Regions from separate parts of the Homo sapiens genome. Here region 1 is linked to region 2. Evidence: promoter capture Hi-C in human tissues and cell types (Jung and others, 2019). All regions are on one chromosome and are shown on one strand. The core of a region is centred on a gene start or on the middle of the fragment in contact, and the rest is flanking DNA. Distances in the headings are between cores, read along the strand shown. Region 1 overlaps LINC02086 (long intergenic non-protein coding RNA 2086). Region 2 holds the start of HOXB13 (homeobox B13).

Evidence for each region. The method cuts DNA at HindIII sites, captures the fragments that hold promoters and counts their contacts. A contact is called where the count stands out against the background at its distance.
Region 1: a contact is called between a fragment that was not itself captured here and the fragment with the promoter of HOXB13 in region 2, in 2 of the 25 tissues and cell types used here (H1 embryonic stem cells and lymphoblastoid cells).

Annotation. Positions count from the first base shown.
Region 1 is chr17:48,651,460-48,654,159 of GRCh38, reverse strand. LINC02086 (long intergenic non-protein coding RNA 2086) reads right to left here. Exons shown (of 8, transcript NR_189645.1): 2 at 1,727-1,771; 3 at 1,186-1,289. Among named protein-coding and RNA genes, the nearest start is that of LINC03057, 6.0 kb to the right of the region's middle. The HindIII fragment of the contact is 3,865 bases long and covers 1-2,700 here.
Region 2 is chr17:48,727,380-48,730,079 of GRCh38, reverse strand. It overlaps HOXB13 (homeobox B13), which reads left to right and starts at 1,330. Exons shown (of 2, transcript NM_006361.6): 1 at 1,330-2,087. The coding sequence starts at 1,487. The HindIII fragment of the contact is 5,391 bases long and covers 1-1,845 here.

The sequences.
Region 1 (2,700 bases), core at 21-2,520, 76 kb after region 2:
AGACTCGCCTGTAGTCCTAGCTACTCAGGAGGCTGAGGCTGGAGAACCGCATGAACCCGGGAGGCGGAGCTTGCAGTGAGCCGAGATTGCACCACTGTACTCCAGCCTGGGTGACAGAGCAAGACTCCATCTCAAAAACAAACAAACAAACAAACAAACACAAGACTCAACCATATTCTGCCCACAATAAATCGCTTTTAAATATAGAGACACAGATAGATCAACAATAAAAGGATAAAAATTCCCATTCACATCAAAAAAAAGTTTGAGTGACTATATTAATATGATATATATATATATTTTTTTGAGACAGGATCTCTGTTGCCCAGGTTGGAGTGCAGTGGTGGTGATCATGGCTCACTGCAACCTTCACCTCCCAGGTTCAAGAGATTCTTGTGCCTCAGCCTCCTCAGAGGCTGGGATTACAGGCACACGCCACCACGCCCGGTTATTTTTTTATTTTTATTTTTATTTTTTGAGACAGAGTCTCGCTCTATTGCTGGAGTGCAATGGTGCCATCTCGGCTCACTGCAACCTCTGCCTCCTGGGTTCATGCAATTCTCCTGCCTCAGTCTCCAGAGTAGCTGGGATTACAGGCATGCACCACCACACCAGGCTAATTTTTGTATTTTTAGTAGAGATGAGGTTTCACCATGTTGGCCAGGCTGGTCTCAAACTGCTGACCTCAAGTGATCCACCCGCCTCGGCCTCCTAAACTGCTGTGATTACAGGTGTGAGCCACCGCGTCTGGCATAATTTGTATACTTTAGTAGAGGTGGGGTTTTGCCATGTTGGCCAGTCTGTCTCAAACTCCTGGACTCAAAAGATCTGCCCACCTCGGCCTCCCAAAGTGCTGGGATTACAGGCATGAGCCACCACGCTGGCCATATATATATATATATATATATATATATATATATATATATATACACACACACACACACACACACACACACACATATACATACTAGTATATATATACATATATAGAATATAGATACATAATCTATTGTATATATATTCTAGTATATATATGTATATATATATATATATATATATATATATATTAGAAAATAAGTTACGCTTTAGAACAAGGACTATAGCCATGGACAAAGAAGAGCATTACATAATGACAAAGGGGTCATTTCACTAAGAAAATATATCAATCCTAAATGTGGTACATACCTAATAATAGAGCTTCAAAAATACATGAAGCACCAAAAATGATAGCATTGAAAGGAGAAATCCACAAATTATAGTTGGATATTTCAACATTCTTCACTTGGTAACTGATAGAAGAAGTAAAAAGAAAATCAGTAAGTATACAGAAGATTTGAACAACATCAAATACTTTGACCTTATCGATCTTTACAGATATTCCACTCAGCAATAGCGGAGTCCACATTCTTTTCAAGTGTACATGGAACATTCACCAAAATAGACCATAATCTGAGCCATAAATTAATTCTCAATAAATTGAGAAGGATTGAAATTATATAAATTATGTTCCCTGACCAGAACAGAAGTAAACTGAAAATCAATAACAACAATAGCCAAAACATCTGGAAATGAAACAACACAAACTTAACCCGTAGATCAAATAAGAAAGCATGAAGAAAATTAGAAAATATTTTGAACTAAAGGAAATTGAACAATACCACATGTCACAAAGTGTAAATGCAGTTAAGGAAGTGCTCACAGGGACATTATAGCATCAAATACTTACATTAGAAGAGAAGAAAGGTCTGGCAGCAACACTTTAAGCTTGCACCTTAAGAAGTTAGAAAAAAATAAAAGAGCAAATTAAACCCAAAGTAAGCAGAAGGAAGGAAATAATATAGATGAGTGAAAATTACTGAAATAGAAAATGTGTAAACAATACAGAAAATGAAACCAGCCAGTTTTAAGAACAGCCAGTTTTTTAAAAGGCAGACTGATCAAGAAAAAAAGAAAAAACACAAATTACCATTATCAGGAATGAATGAACATCACTACAGATCATATAGACATTAAAAAGAAGATACTAAGGAAATATTAGGAACAACTATATGCAAATAAACTCAACACTATGGAATACATTAACAAATTTATTGAAAAACACAAACTACCAAAGCTTTCCCAAGAAGAAATATATAATCTGAATAGTCTTATGTATGAAAAGAAATTGAATTTTTTTTTTTTTTTTGAGACGGAGTTTTGCTCTTGTTGCCCAGGCTGTAGTGCAACGGCGCGATCTTGGCTCACAGCAACCTCTGCCTCCCTGGTTCAAGTGATTCTCCTGCCTCAGCCTCCCGAGTAGCTGGGATTACAAGCATGTGCCACCACGCCCGGCTAATTTTGTATTTTTAGTAGAGACAGTGTTTCTCCATGTTGGTCAAGGTGGTCTCAAACTCCAGACCTCGGGTGATCCACCTGCCTTGGCCTCCCAAAGTGCTGGGATTACAGGCGTGAGCCACTGTGCCCGGCAAGAAATTGAATTTGTATCAGAACTCTTCCCACAGCTGTGCATGGAGGCTCATGCCTGTAATCCCAGTGCTTTTTTAAATAAGCCAGGAGTGGTGGCACACGCCTGTAGTCCCAGATACTTGGGAGGCTGAGGCGGGAGGATCACTTGAGCCCAGAAGTTCAAGGCTGCAGTGAGCTATGATTGTGCCACTGTACTCTGGCCTAGGTGACAGAGAGAGACCCTATCTTAAAAAA
Region 2 (2,700 bases), core at 81-2,580:
AGGCAGATAGGGGTCTTGGGCTTTCTGGGTACTCAGCTTGTGTGGGAGTATGCCAGTATCAGGGACAGTTTCCTGGGCCCCTTGCAGACCATAGGGAGAGGACTGCAGGGCAGGGAGACTGGCATCTCCACACAGGCGTCTGTATTCTTGGGGTCCAGAACTCCCGCAGCTGGTTTCTGGCAGTCAGCCAGGCTTGGCTTCCTCAGACTTCTTTAGATCCCAAAAAAGGGGGAAAGTGCCTCTCTTCTTTCTCTTTTCTGACTGACACTTCAGGATTTTACAAGATTTTGTCCCATCCGCTCTGTCAGCTTCTCTCTTTCCCTCTTTGTGTTGCTGTCCCTGAGTCTCATCTCTCCCTCTCCCCGTCCCTCCCTCAAGTCCTGTGGGTCTCCGTCCCTCCGTATGTCTTTACTTAAAGGGAAATCCAGACCCTTCCACAGGCCACTCTAGAGGCTCCATTTCCCCTTCAGGTCCGGAAGTGGAGTGTCCTGGGTTCCATCCAGATCGCATGTCTTCTACGTCTACGTTCGTGTCTCCCGCCTCTTCCCTCAGCCTCACCCGAATCAGGGCCTCCAGAGCATTCTGGGCAGTAGCGAGTCCCTGGGTAAGGGGCGTCCAGGGCACCTCCCTGGGGCCCGGAGCAGCTCATTCCAGGACATCTGGGACAGGAAGGGTACCGGGAATGAACTGGGGTGCTAGTACCCAGGACCCAAAGCCAGGGGCTGCCAGAAATACCTATTAACCCCCATTTCCCAGCCTCCTCTTACACAGGCGCATTCCCGGGTTCTCCTCTGAGGCCGGGAGCGGCCTCCCAGCCCCACCCCCGACTCCCCTTCCCCCCCAGGAGATGGACACTTTATAGAGAGAGCTTTTTATTCTCTCGTTAAACCTGTCAAAGCGCAGGAGACAGAAAGCTAGGGAGGGAGAGGAGGAGAAGGAGGTGGGGCCCGGCTCCTCGTCCCCTCTTCCTCCGCCCACCACGCCTCCCCTCCCCCCGGACGTGTAAATGAGACTCTGCAAACTGGAAAGCAGCGAAAGGACACCTCCTTCCTTTTCTCTCTTGTTGTTTTTAAGTGGAATGAGAGAGAGAGGAGTGGAGAGGGAAAAGAAGAGAGAGAGGGAGAAGAGAGAGAGGAGAGAAAGAGCGAGAGAGCGAGAGAGAGAGACAGAGACAGAGAGAGAGAGAGAGAGAGAGAGAGAGAGAAAGAGAGAGAGAGAGAGAGAGAATAAGCTGGGGTAAAGTATTTTCGCAGTTTCTGCCTTTAGGATTTTATTAGCTTCTCTCCCCCAGGCCGCAGCCAATCAGCGCGCGTGCCCGGGCCCCTGCGTCTCTTGCGTCAAGACGGCCGTGCTGAGCGAATGCAGGCGACTTGCGAGCTGGGAGCGATTTAAAACGCTTTGGATTCCCCCGGCCTGGGTGGGGAGAGCGAGCTGGGTGCCCCCTAGATTCCCCGCCCCCGCACCTCATGAGCCGACCCTCGGCTCCATGGAGCCCGGCAATTATGCCACCTTGGATGGAGCCAAGGATATCGAAGGCTTGCTGGGAGCGGGAGGGGGGCGGAATCTGGTCGCCCACTCCCCTCTGACCAGCCACCCAGCGGCGCCTACGCTGATGCCTGCTGTCAACTATGCCCCCTTGGATCTGCCAGGCTCGGCGGAGCCGCCAAAGCAATGCCACCCATGCCCTGGGGTGCCCCAGGGGACGTCCCCAGCTCCCGTGCCTTATGGTTACTTTGGAGGCGGGTACTACTCCTGCCGAGTGTCCCGGAGCTCGCTGAAACCCTGTGCCCAGGCAGCCACCCTGGCCGCGTACCCCGCGGAGACTCCCACGGCCGGGGAAGAGTACCCCAGCCGCCCCACTGAGTTTGCCTTCTATCCGGGATATCCGGGAACCTACCAGCCTATGGCCAGTTACCTGGACGTGTCTGTGGTGCAGACTCTGGGTGCTCCTGGAGAACCGCGACATGACTCCCTGTTGCCTGTGGACAGTTACCAGTCTTGGGCTCTCGCTGGTGGCTGGAACAGCCAGATGTGTTGCCAGGGAGAACAGAACCCACCAGGTCCCTTTTGGAAGGCAGCATTTGCAGGTACCTCTATTACCCTGGGTCCCCTTGTCTCTGAGCCTGGGGTTGTGGGTCCCAATGGCATTTCCCTGGGAGGAGGAGGAGGGAGACTTGGAGCTGGTGAGGATGAGCTTGGTGCTCCTCCCTTGGTTATTAGGACTCTGAAGGAGGTCTGAGTAGCTGGAGGGCCTGGATGGAGGTCAGTGTGAGGGGCCTGAGCTGGGTGCTATCTGAAGCCTGAAGGCCACCTCACTTCTCCAGGAGGCCCTGGGACCAGCCTTTCAACATGTCTGAGAGGTTTAGATCTCTTTGCTGTTGAGTGGGGATCAGGGTGTCCCTACCCAGCACAATTCCAAACTAATTCTACACAAAAGCTAAATAACTCTCAATTCGGTGCGTGGGGAGTGGGTGTGGGAGATGGGTAAAAAGGTATTGGATGTACTGTAGAGAATACAACCTCTCACTTTCTATTAGATGAGTTTTCCAATTTCCAAAGAAAAATTTAGGTTTCCTGCAGCCGTGACATATGTGTGTGCACTGGGATGGGTTAATGTGTGTGTGTGTGTGTGTATGCGCATGTATTGGGAGTGGGGGCAGAAACGTGTTTCCAGAATTTGCCTGTAGAATCTAAAAGAGT